4 separate regions of the Homo sapiens genome follow, and regions 2, 3 and 4 are each linked to region 1. The links are contacts of gene promoters, found by promoter capture Hi-C in blood cells and fetal thymus (Javierre and others, 2016). All regions are on one chromosome and are shown on one strand. The core of a region is centred on a gene start or on the middle of the fragment in contact, and the rest is flanking DNA. Distances in the headings are between cores, read along the strand shown. Region 1 holds the start of PABPC1L (poly(A) binding protein cytoplasmic 1 like). Region 2 overlaps STK4 (serine/threonine kinase 4). Region 3 overlaps STK4 (serine/threonine kinase 4). Region 4 overlaps KCNS1 (potassium voltage-gated channel modifier subfamily S member 1).

Region 1 (2,897 bases), core at 159-2,658:
AGAAGTCAAGGTGTTATCCAGGGGAAGAAATTACCATTAATTAAACAGCCTCTTTACACCCGTTACTTGATACCTCTCTACCTTCCACAACAAACCATGCAGGTATTAGGTCCTCTTTAGTGACTTCTAAGATTTGGTATGGACAGTTATTTTGCATTGTATTCGAGCCCACCATCCCTTCCCCATTTTTTAACTCTGAGATACAACCAAGCCAGTGAAATAGGTAACCTATGGTTGCATAAGTCTTGGTCATCACCAAGCTGGCGTCTCACCTGTCCTCACACTGTATGGTGGCCTGCAGAGCTGGTTCCTCACAGGATTTGCCCCTTCTGAAAACATCCACATTACCACAAGGAGAGAAAAATATCAGGATAGAGGGGTCTTTTTTAGCCCAAGATTAGAATTAGTGCTTCCTTGCTACTCTGAGGCTGGACAGCCAGATGGGCACCTTCTGTCCCTAGTTTAGGAGCTGTTCCACCTGTTGAAGCCACACTCAACCAAAAGTCAGTGGGGGCCTACCTGCTCTGTTGGATCAGTGAGACCAGGAAAGTCCTATCAGAGGAAAAGTGAAGTATTGGTGCTCAGTGGAGTAGTTGTTTTGTTTTTGTGTTGTTTTTAATGTCCCTATACCACAGATTGACGCTGCAAGCTCAGATTCACAGTCTTGCTCTGTTTAGGTCTTGCTCTGCTATTAGTTCCCAATTGTCCGCATTTAGGCTGAGCCACAAGTAACTCAGTGAACCTCCCTGGTGTAATGGATGTGTAATGGCTTAGCAGAGGGACAGGGAATATCCCAGGAAAAGGGGTCTTGGTAATATGAGCCAGTACCAAGAAAGGCCTTAGTGGTCTCCAGTTCTCATGTCTCAAAGCCATTTCCATCCTTGGTGCGAAACGGTGGGACTGGATCAGGCTCTCTGGAGGAAGACATCTTCAATGGAGCAGGGTAAAATTCTCTACACAAGCTTTGAAACAGTGGCCTGTTCGGAATTCCGTTTGTGTGTGAAACGCAAAAAGCGCGGTTTGGGTCTCCTTTCATTCTTGTCAGGAGGGAATCATTCCCATTTTACAGAGAAGGGAAACGGGTTCAGAAAGATGATCATCTGTTCCGGGGTTAGAACTCAGTCCCCTGCGTCCTTTCCGTCCCAGTCCTCGGCTCTTTCAAAAGAGCTGGGGGTTTTGAGAGCTCCACTCAAGTCCCAGCAGCCCTGCTCAAGGCCAGGTTGAAGGCTTTTTCCGCCTCCCAGGGCGGGGTCAGAGGTGTCCCCACCTGTAGCTTTTAGATCCCCAAGTGCTCGCAGGTGGGGGGTGGGCCCAGGAGGGATCCCGGGGGAGGGGCGTCCGAGCGCGCCCACGATTGGTGCGCAGGGACGCGGGGGCGGTAAAGGGAAGGGGCGGGCCCGCGCCCAGGAAGGAGGGCTTCCGCCCGGGTGAGCGCGGGGCTGCTGGGTGACCCGGCTCCTGCTTGCCCCGCAGCCCCGGCCCCCTGCCCACCATGAACGCCAGCGGTTCTGGCTACCCGCTTGCCTCGCTTTACGTGGGCGATCTGCACCCCGACGTGACCGAGGCCATGCTCTATGAGAAGTTCTCTCCCGCCGGCCCCATCCTGTCCATCCGCGTGTGCCGCGATGTAGCCACCCGGCGCTCGCTGGGCTACGCCTACATCAACTTCCAGCAGCCCGCGGACGGTGAGCCCCGGGGATGGGGCGGGAGGGGAAGGACCGACGGACAAGCAGGCGGACAGACAGAAGCCGGAACTGGGCCGCTTGCGCTTTCATCTTACACTTTGCAGCCGGGGAAACTGAGGCTCAAAGATAACAGGGCGTTGGCAGAGGCCTGGCCCCTGAGACGGGAATTGGTAATTAGTGTGGTTTACTGCTATTCCTCTACAGAGGAGAGAGATTAGGGTCGAGTGAAAACAGATACAGGCTTTGTGGGGGTGGGGGTGGGGGTCAGGCGGACCAGGGATAGAAGCCCAGCAGCCGTGTGACTCTGGGCAAGTTACTCGACCATTCTGAGCTTCAGATGCGTGTCTGGAAAATGGGGGTCCTAGCTGCCTTATAGAGTGCTTGTGAGGATGAGAGATTCAAAGCACCTGGTGAGGAAGATGCCCAAGGCAACACAGCTGGTGAGCAGGGGAGGCAGGAGAACCCAGCCTTGGGCTCAGGCCTTTCCCAGCGCGACGTGAGATCCACACTGGGCGCCTCTACCTGCACGGGCTCTGAAAAACCGCTGCCTCCAGGCCGCAAGGCCGCTTTCTCAGAGCTGATAGCATTGATTAGAGCTTGTCCGATGAGTTTGCCTGCACTTCTGTTGAGAGTGGAGAGGATGAGTGAGCTTGGGCAAGCCTTCACGCTCTGCACCTTTTCATCTGCAAAATGGGGCTAAGGCGTATTCTCCAATAACATAAAGAATGGAGAACTGCTGTCTATGCATAAAGAATGGTAACTGCTTGTTACCTCGTAAACGCTCTTAAGTGGTAACCTAAAATAAATAAATAAATAAATAAATAAATAAATAAATAAATAAATAAGGCCAGGCGCAGTGGCTCACGCCTGTAATCCCAGCATCTTAGGAGGCCGAGGTGGGCAGATCACTTGAGGTCAGGAGTTCGAGACCAGCCTGGCCAACATAGCGAAACCCTTTCTCTACTAAAAATACAAAAAATAGCTGGGCATGATGGCGGACGCCTGTAATCCCAACTGCTGGGGAGGCTGAGGCACGAGAATCGCTTGAATCCGGGAGGCAGAGGTTGCAGTGAGCCGAGACTGCGCCATTGCACTCCAGCCCGGGCAACAGAGCGAGACTCCATCTCAACACAAAACAAAACAACAAACAAAAAAGAAACAACAACGAAAATAGTGGCTTTAACATTCTGATGTAAGACTCCAGAAACTCAC
Region 2 (2,785 bases), core at 267-2,766, 160 kb after region 1:
GATTCTGATACAGGTGATCCATAGGTCATACACTGAGAAACATTGAGTCTGGAAAGACTTCTGAGATCATCTAGTCAGCCCTGTCTTACAAATGGGGAAATTAAGGTCTGAGGAGGAGAACGGGCTTGCCCAAAGTTGCAGAATAAGTTGCAAAGTCAGTGCAGCTCCACTAACTTATATGTCTTCATTTTGCAATTTATTCTTCATCCTAGTGGCTAGATGAAAAGCAAGTCTACCCTCCTAATTCCCAGCTCCCCTTCTTTCACACTATTTTTTATTTTCTTTTTTCCAGAGCACCTTCTAATATAAAAATAATTTACTAATTTACTGTGTTTATTGCTATTTTCCTTGCTTCATTAAAATGTAAGCTTCACAAGGGCACTGCTTTTTGTTTGTTTGTTTGTTTTCATTAAAGTAGCCTATGTGCCTCGAATAGCACCTGACCCATAGTAGGTGTTCAATGAGTATTTATAAATGGATGGGTGAAAAATATTTTGTTAAACTGTACATAAGTTAACAGGTATTATGTACCAGCCCTTAGGCATTAGCATGAAATAGAGTAGAATATTTTCTTTTTCACATGTTTGATTCTAGCTTGAATTAGAGGTTACAGAAACAGCTTATTTATGGAAGATTAATTAGAGACTTACCAATCATATGTACAATAATAATAAGAATAACAATAGCAACAATAACAACAGTGATAACATCCATTTGTGGAATATTTACTATCTGCCCAACACATACTATATGAAGTTCTGAGCTAAGACCATCAGACCATTATCTCATGTAAGTCTTAGTACCGCCCCAGGGTGGAGGAACAAAATAGTATTGTCTGTTTTCCAAAGGAGGAAACCGAGGCTCAAGAGGTGAAATTACTGTTTAAGGTTACATAGCCAGTACAGATTTAGGACCTGTGATCCCAAAGATTACATTCTTAACTACCAGTTACATTCAGTAGTAGGCTTGGGGAATTCTCTCTTTGCAGAAGGAATTGAAAATGCCAAAGACTAGGCAAGCATTGCTATTAGGGGTGTCCTTGGGCCAAGAACACCAACCTCTAAGGTAGTATAAAACCACAGGCTGGAAAGATGCATTTTTTTTTTCAGCCCGACTTTCCAGCATTTACCCACACTCTCAAGTCTTCCATTCTCACATTACAAAGAACCTTTCGTCTTGAACTATTAGGGTTTTCTCACTTCTCAGACACCCTCCCTGAAGCAGGCCAAGGAAAATTCCTGTGGTGACAGGCCATTTCTAGGGAGGCCACTGTAGCACTTCACACTTGCTCTCACCCCACCCACTCAAGGAAGGGTAGACAGACAGAGGGCCCTTTACCCAGCTCCTATACTACTTTCCTGTGGAGACCTCAGGAAAGGGCCGAGGATCATGATTTTCTAAATGTGGGCACAACAGACCTCTTGTAAGACTTTGAGTTCTTGAAACACTGTACCTATTAAACTGGTTGTGAGCACACAGAATAAAGTATCACCACCCACTGTGGATAATGTCAGCATTCATTCCCACCCCTGACAGCCAATATTGGCCAGGCTTGGAATCACTGAACACACATGGCAGCAGAGTCCCTTGCCCCATAGCTGCAGACACAGGTTGAACACTGGTGTATCCCTGGGCTTTTATGAAGAGAGAGGCTTATAACACCCATTGCCATCTTTACACACACAGTGCAGCAGGTACTGTGCTGAGAACTTTACAGCCGTGATCTTATTTAATTCTTACAATACATGTGATGAGACACTGCTGTCTGACTTCTGTAGATGGGGAAGGCCTGGAGAGATTGGTAACTTGACAGAGTCTCATGGCATCTGCAACAGGCAGAACCACATTTTAAACAAAGGTTGAGTTACTTCTAAAACCTGTGCTTTGCTAGTCTTCTGTTCTGCAACACTGGTTAAGAGCATAGACTCTAGAGCCATGCTGCCTGGGTTTGAGTCTTGATTCTGCCACTTACTAGTTGGGAGACATTGGGCAGGTTACTTAGCTACCCTCCTCCTTGGGCTGTTCATCTGTAACATAGGGATAATAATGTCCTTGTAGCATGGGTTGCTCTGAGGATTAAAGGAATCCATATATGTAAAGCACTCAGTGTCTGGTGCATAGAAAACACTAAATGCCAGCCATTATTATTAATTTATATATCAACTCATTGTTTTTCTTTGGATGATAGAAACTTAATCTCAGAAGTTTGAGGTTTTTCTAACTACCCACCCTTACCCCAACCCCTGCCAAGGGTTGCGTCTGTATTCCCAAGGGGCTTAGACTGTTACCTGGTATATAGTAGCCTCAAGTAAATGCTGGTGATGATAATAGGGCAGTGCCAAGACATTGGGGGTGTGGGAAGGCAGGGTTAGGGGATGGCATCTGCGCCTCATCAGCATCGATCCTCCATGGTGTCGTATCCTGAAAGTGGGAAAGGCGCTGTCCAGATAGACGCTTATCTCGTAGACAGAACAAGAACGGGGAGGCAACCATTATTTCACATACAGCAAGTTACTGTTATTTTAATGCCCTAACAATGAATCTATATTTAATTAACTTAAAAGATAGGGGAGGTGAGAGTATTATTCACTAAGTTCTTGGTCAAGGCACATTAAATCAAAGCGGTTAGCACTTAGATCTCTTCCAGGGATAAATTATCTCAGACAAGCTTCAAGGTATGCCATGCTTTGGAATGAATTGTCACTTTCCAACCACCACCACTCAACCTGTGATCTGACCACAGTGTCTTCCTCCTGTCTCCCTTCCCTCTGGGTGCCTGGGAAGG
Region 3 (2,700 bases), core at 70-2,569, 140 kb after region 1:
TACACATCTCACTCTGGGGGTGTGTGGGGACTGGGAAAGGGGGAGCCAGTTTGGCCTGTGGCACATGTAATTTTTATACTTTGAACTACTGAAATGGGTCTGAGTTCTCCAGCTCTTCACAGACCCCATCACTTCCTGTTTTTGTTTTATGAGCAGACTGTTGAGTTTATTTCTGTTGTCTTTGCCAGTCTCTCAAAACATTTGTGTTTGTGATCTCTGATTTAACCAGTCTCCAGCTGATGGTCATTTAGGTAGCCTTCAGCTTTTTAATATTAATAAATATTGCTTTAATAACATCTTTGCATGGTACGCCCTTAGAATTAATTCCTGCAGTAGAATTATTGGGTCAAACTGTTCACAAATTTGAAATTTTGATACATATTGTTAAATTTCCCTATCGTTTTTGGTATGTGAATTGTTGCTTTATATTATTTACTGAATTTTCCATGGAATTCTTATTTTCTTTATTGATTTTAAAGACTTCTTCAGCTATCAAGTCAGGTTATGAACCTTTTAACATATGTGGTAAAGATATTCTGCTAGAATATCTTTTAAAGCTTTGTATATGGTATCTAACTTCAGACATTTAAATTTTTATATATTTTGATTTATTAGCTTTTTCTTGTGGTTTCTGGAATTTTATGTCATCTTTGGGAAAGTTTTTCACATTCTAAGATTACAAAAATATTAACCCTTACTTTGTTTTAGAATGTTTTATTATTTTTTCTTTCTCAATATTTAATCTATCATGTATTTGTCTTGGTGTTAAGAGTAAGGTAGCAATCGAGCTTTATATTTTTCTAACAACCAAGGGTTTAAAAAATACATAATTAATTTAGAATTACCAAATCTTAATAGCTTATAGTACCTAAAAGTGGCTTGTTTTTACAGATAGAAACTTTCCACTTCAAACTCTGAGTTTTAATGTTTTTCGGCTTTTAAAACCTCTAGAAAGAAACTGTGAACAGAACACCGTATTGGTTTTGGCATTAACCTTAATGCATCTCAAATAGGCTGATTCTACAGAATTTGATCCAAAGTACTTCTATGTCTTGATCCTTTTTTTGCCAAGCAAAATTGATTGTTTCTAACCAAAAGGCCTTTAGTGCTAGACTGAAAGAAAAGTAAGGTGGTCCTTCTGTGCTGGTTGTATTTTATATAATTTGGCATCAAGTACAATGCTTTTTATTTTTCTCTTTAGTTTCTTTCTTTTCTCTAGCCTTTGATGGTCCAGGCCTCTTGTTGCTAGGGGGCTTTTTGGGAGACAAATTCAAATCCTTACTGTCTAGCTCATTGTTATTGTATCTTTTAGTGAGTTCCTTTTTTCATGGTAGTTCAATAAGTGGTTACCAGGGGTCTTTCTTTGACAGTTATTACTAGCTTCTCTTGTATAGTGGGATTTAGCTGTGGGTTGATTTGTTGTGCTGGTATGTTTTCAACTGCAGCGATGCATTGCTCTATCACATGGATTCTTTTTATAGCTTCATTAGAGGTGTTTTAGTTCCTCTTTTGAATATTTATCTGAGTATCTTAGTACCTTGGCAGTCACACTATCCTAAATTATTATAGTGCCTTCTAAAGTAGATTTTGTCATTGAGGCTTATGTTTAGGTCAGGCTTGCAGGCAGGGAGACAGATTATGCCATTGTGGTTGAGAGGCATATAGTGGTTAAAACCACTGGAGTTATTCTGTTAGGGCTCATAGCCTATCTTCTCCACCTATTATGCCACCTGTCTAACCCTTGATTGTCTTATCTGTCAAACATGGTAAAGTCATACCTCTTTCATAGGGCTGTCGTGAGTATCAAATGAGATGCAGGTTGCGTAATCCCAAATCCAAAAATCCAAAATCCAAAACACTTCTGGTCCCAGGCATCTTGGATAAGGGATACTAAACCTGTAATGCACGTAAAGCACCTTTAGGACAATGGTCCTTACTGCTGGCCTGCAATAAGCACTTAATAAATGTTATTATTTTCTTCTTTTTTGGTGTTGGTTTGCTCTTCTATAATGTTACAATGCTATTTTGTTAACCTTCTAGTTGTAAAAACACACTCATTATAGAAAGTTTAGAGACTGAAGAAAAGCTTAAAGAAGAAAATGTCTCTTACAACTCTTCCACCCCCCCCAGCAATAATAATTACATTTTAACATTTCCTTCCAGTTTTTTAATACTTAGATATTATTTTACACAGCTGAGATCATTCTGCATGCATAATAAATCTTGATTTTTTTTCACTTAACATATCTTAAACATTTTCTCATATCATTAAAAACACTTGTGAAATCATTTTTAAGGGTCACATAGTAGCCCATCACATTACATTCTTTTGATTGATTTAATCATCCTCTTTTTACTTGGCATTTAACATTTGGGGCTTTTTTGGTTGGAGTTGGGTTGTTTTCAGGTCGTTCTAATATATTAAGCCAGGCTTTTTTCTTGTCAACAGGAGGTTTGGGGATTGAGTCTTTGTGATTGTTTTTATTGTTGCATTTTTTTGCCTGTTGAGTGTGTGAATTAAGCTGGGGTTTTAACCATCAGCACCTGCGCTCTCAGACTCTTGCCACCACCTTTCTGGACAATCTCCATGCTCTGCTTTTTAAACTTTTTCTGATGAGTTTCTTTTCTTCTGTGCTAGAAGAAAGATGAATGGAGACTATGTTTGGTGTTTAGGTTTCTGACCCGGCAGTGCCATGTGAA
Region 4 (2,700 bases), core at 38-2,537, 180 kb after region 1:
GATTAGTGTTTCTACCAAAGACCTTGCAGGCTGATGACTCCAATCAAAACACCATTAATTTCCTCTGGTAGGTGCAAAATTAGATGGGTCTTGGAAAATGACAGTGGATTACTTTAGTCAGGTGATAATTCCATTTTTAACTGTTGTGTTAGATATATGCTCATCATTACAGTCCCTGGAGTCATGCATCTACTAGTTTCACTCTCTACTCTGAGGAACAGAAACCACTGGAAGCATTTTGCTATTACCTAGAAGGGATAAGAGTTTTCATTTACTGTTCTAACTCAGGCATACCTCTGTTCTCCAGCTCTGTAACAGGAAGGCCTTGATTCCCCGAATATCCCTATTCTAAAAGACAGCAAACTAATTTTGACTAAATCAGTTGACTAAATCACATTAACAGGGCCTGGAGAGCACAAAGGAGCAGACACTTCAGCTCTGTAGGTAAGACACACCTTTTACAAGGTGGGAGATAAATCCAGTGCATCTCAGTGAAGTTTCTTAGAGTGTCCAGTACCCTGGACATATGTGTAGTACTTCTATCACCACAAAAGAAGTACAGTGTTAATTTGGATTTTGTTGCTTCTACCGCTATCAGATCCTGGCTTGCTACTGGGCTTTGATGGTGAATGAAGGCCTAACTATGGGATATCAGGTAATCTGATGACCCAACGTGACAAACTACGATATCATCCATCCAGATAGAAAGTCAAGCATGCCTAGTAAGGACTCCATCATCAAGTGTATCCATGGGTACATGGGATTTGGCTCACGTAGACCCTAATGATGTAAGTTGATTGCATGAGAAGTTTGCTTTCAATCAAGTTGCATGTTTTCTGATTAAACCCAATGACCCACTTGCAAATCTATTGCTTCCTATCCTATGACTCTGAGCTCTGCTGACTTAAGAGATTTTGGTACCCAAGGGAAGAATACTTCTTTGGTACTCAAGGAAGAATACCCTGAATCGGAGACTGAGCCTGTCACCTGGACTTTCGGAGCTTTTCTTTTCCCTATGTGTGTATAAAGGGAGTTACAGTCTTGATTAGGGTAATCAACCACCCTGTCAAGGGGAAATATGGTTACTGCTACACAAAGTAGGCAGAAAGGAATGCAAGTAACTCCATGGAATTCCTTGGGGAATCTTCACATGCCAGCAGGACTAACAAGTGCTCAGATTCGCTAGGAATAAAGGTTTAGGTTACCCCATCAAAAAAAGAATCCCAACCAACTAAAGTGCTGGCCAAAGGCAGGGGGCATGACATGGCTCACAGAGAAGGGATGTTATAAATGCCAGCAGCAGCCTTATGACCATTACAGAAATGAAGACATAGCAATGGCCTCTTTTCCTCCTTGCTGTGTTTTTCTTTTCCTTTCCTCTAGTATCATATAGGGTATGCTGGTGGCAGTTACATTTACCATTTATTCCTTATATTACAGGATATTGAGACAGAATTAGTGGTACCAGTGGAAGAATGAACTTATAGCTGGATTCATGAACAGGATATGCCCCATAGGGTGTCTTTCCTTTGGGGAGATCGGTATATGTTGGTTATATATAAGAGAGTTTCCTTATGTTAGAAACATGCATAAATCGTGTGTATGGGAAAAGGATGGGAGTGTATGGTATGCTATTTTTGCTTATCAATAACTTTTGCCTTTCTTTTGGTGACAATAGGTGGTCTTTTATTTGGGTAAGTACCTTTCCTCCAACTGCCGCAAATACTAATACGGTACCTTGCCCTCCATCCCTCCCAAGAGAGAGGCATATGACTCAAGTGAAATCAGACTCTCTCCTGGGATTGGAACTGTGAGCAGGATGATACAGGGAAGGAAGTTGACTGGAGGCAGATCATGTGGGTAGCAGTGTCTTAAACAGAAGGTTCATGAGTCTTGCTACTGAGGTCCCTAGAGCTCCCCTCATTCCTGTATTTCCTGAGGCCTCGTCAGTCAGCTCTTCCTTTGGTCGGGTGAATTTCACAGATACCCTTCTGTAGTGGGCCAGATGGTGGCCCCAAACACCTGTCCATATTTTAATCTCTGGAACCCGTAACTATTACCTTATTTGGGAAAGGGTCTTTTTGCAAATGTGGTTAAGTTAAGGATCCTGAGATGAGGTCATCTTGGATTATCCTGGTGGGCCTAAATGTCATCAAAAGTGTCCTTGTAAGACAGAGGCACTGGAAGACTTGACATACACAGACACTGAAGTGAGATCAGAGGCAGAGACTTGAGTGATGCAGCCACAGCCAAGGAAAGCCAAGAATGGTGGCAGCCACCACAAACTAGAAGAGAAAAGGAGAGGGTTTCCCCCTGGAGTCTCCAGAGGGAGGGTGGCCCTGCTGACATCTTGATTTTGGATTTCTGGCCTCCAGAACTGTCAGAGAATACACTTCTACTGTTTTAAGCCATCAAGTTTGTTTGAATTTGTTACAGCAGCTGCTGGAAACTAATATATCTTCCAATAAATTCATTTTTTGCTTGATGTCAGTTTGTTGCTTATACCCTCAAACTCTAATTGTTAACAGTCATTCATCACTTTAATTATTTTATAAATTACCCTTTTTGACCAAGTTTGTTCCAACTGAATTCCTGTCACTTGCAACCTGTTCTGGCTGGCACAACCACAAAGTTTGTGCCAAATCCAGGACTGGAGCCTGAGAATGTGGATTCCAAGTCATTCCACATATTGCCCACCCT

What was found. The method cuts DNA at HindIII sites, captures the fragments that hold promoters and counts their contacts. A CHiCAGO score of 5 or more calls a contact.
Region 2: a contact is called between a fragment that was not itself captured here and the fragment with the promoter of PABPC1L in region 1, in 1 of 17 cell types (M2 macrophages). The highest score is 5.2, in M2 macrophages.
Region 3: a contact is called between a fragment that was not itself captured here and the fragment with the promoter of PABPC1L in region 1, in 1 of 17 cell types (M2 macrophages). The highest score is 5.0, in M2 macrophages.
Region 4: a fragment that was not itself captured here is called in contact with the fragment with the promoter of PABPC1L in region 1 in 1 of 17 cell types (M2 macrophages); the score reaches 5.3 in M2 macrophages.

Annotation. Positions count from the first base shown.
Region 1 is chr20:44,908,652-44,911,548 of GRCh38, forward strand. PABPC1L (poly(A) binding protein cytoplasmic 1 like) reads left to right here and starts at 1,409. Exons shown (of 15, transcript NM_001372179.1): 1 at 1,409-1,685. The coding sequence starts at 1,493. RefSeq lists a silencer at 1,263-1,592. The HindIII fragment of the contact is 5,219 bases long and covers 961-2,897 here.
Region 2 is chr20:45,072,164-45,074,948 of GRCh38, forward strand. The region is part of intron 10 of STK4 (serine/threonine kinase 4); the gene reads left to right. Among named protein-coding and RNA genes, the nearest start is that of KCNS1, 28 kb to the right of the region's middle. The HindIII fragment of the contact is 2,300 bases long and covers 367-2,666 here.
Region 3 is chr20:45,050,158-45,052,857 of GRCh38, forward strand. All of the region lies in intron 10 of STK4 (serine/threonine kinase 4), which reads left to right. Among named protein-coding and RNA genes, the nearest start is that of KCNS1, 50 kb to the right of the region's middle. RefSeq lists a silencer at 1,673-1,742. The HindIII fragment of the contact is 1,529 bases long and covers 556-2,084 here.
Region 4 is chr20:45,089,551-45,092,250 of GRCh38, forward strand. It overlaps KCNS1 (potassium voltage-gated channel modifier subfamily S member 1), which reads right to left. Exons shown (of 4, transcript NM_001322799.2): 4 at 1,664-2,700. Among named protein-coding and RNA genes, the nearest start is that of KCNS1, 10 kb to the right of the region's middle. The HindIII fragment of the contact is 4,256 bases long and covers 1-2,700 here.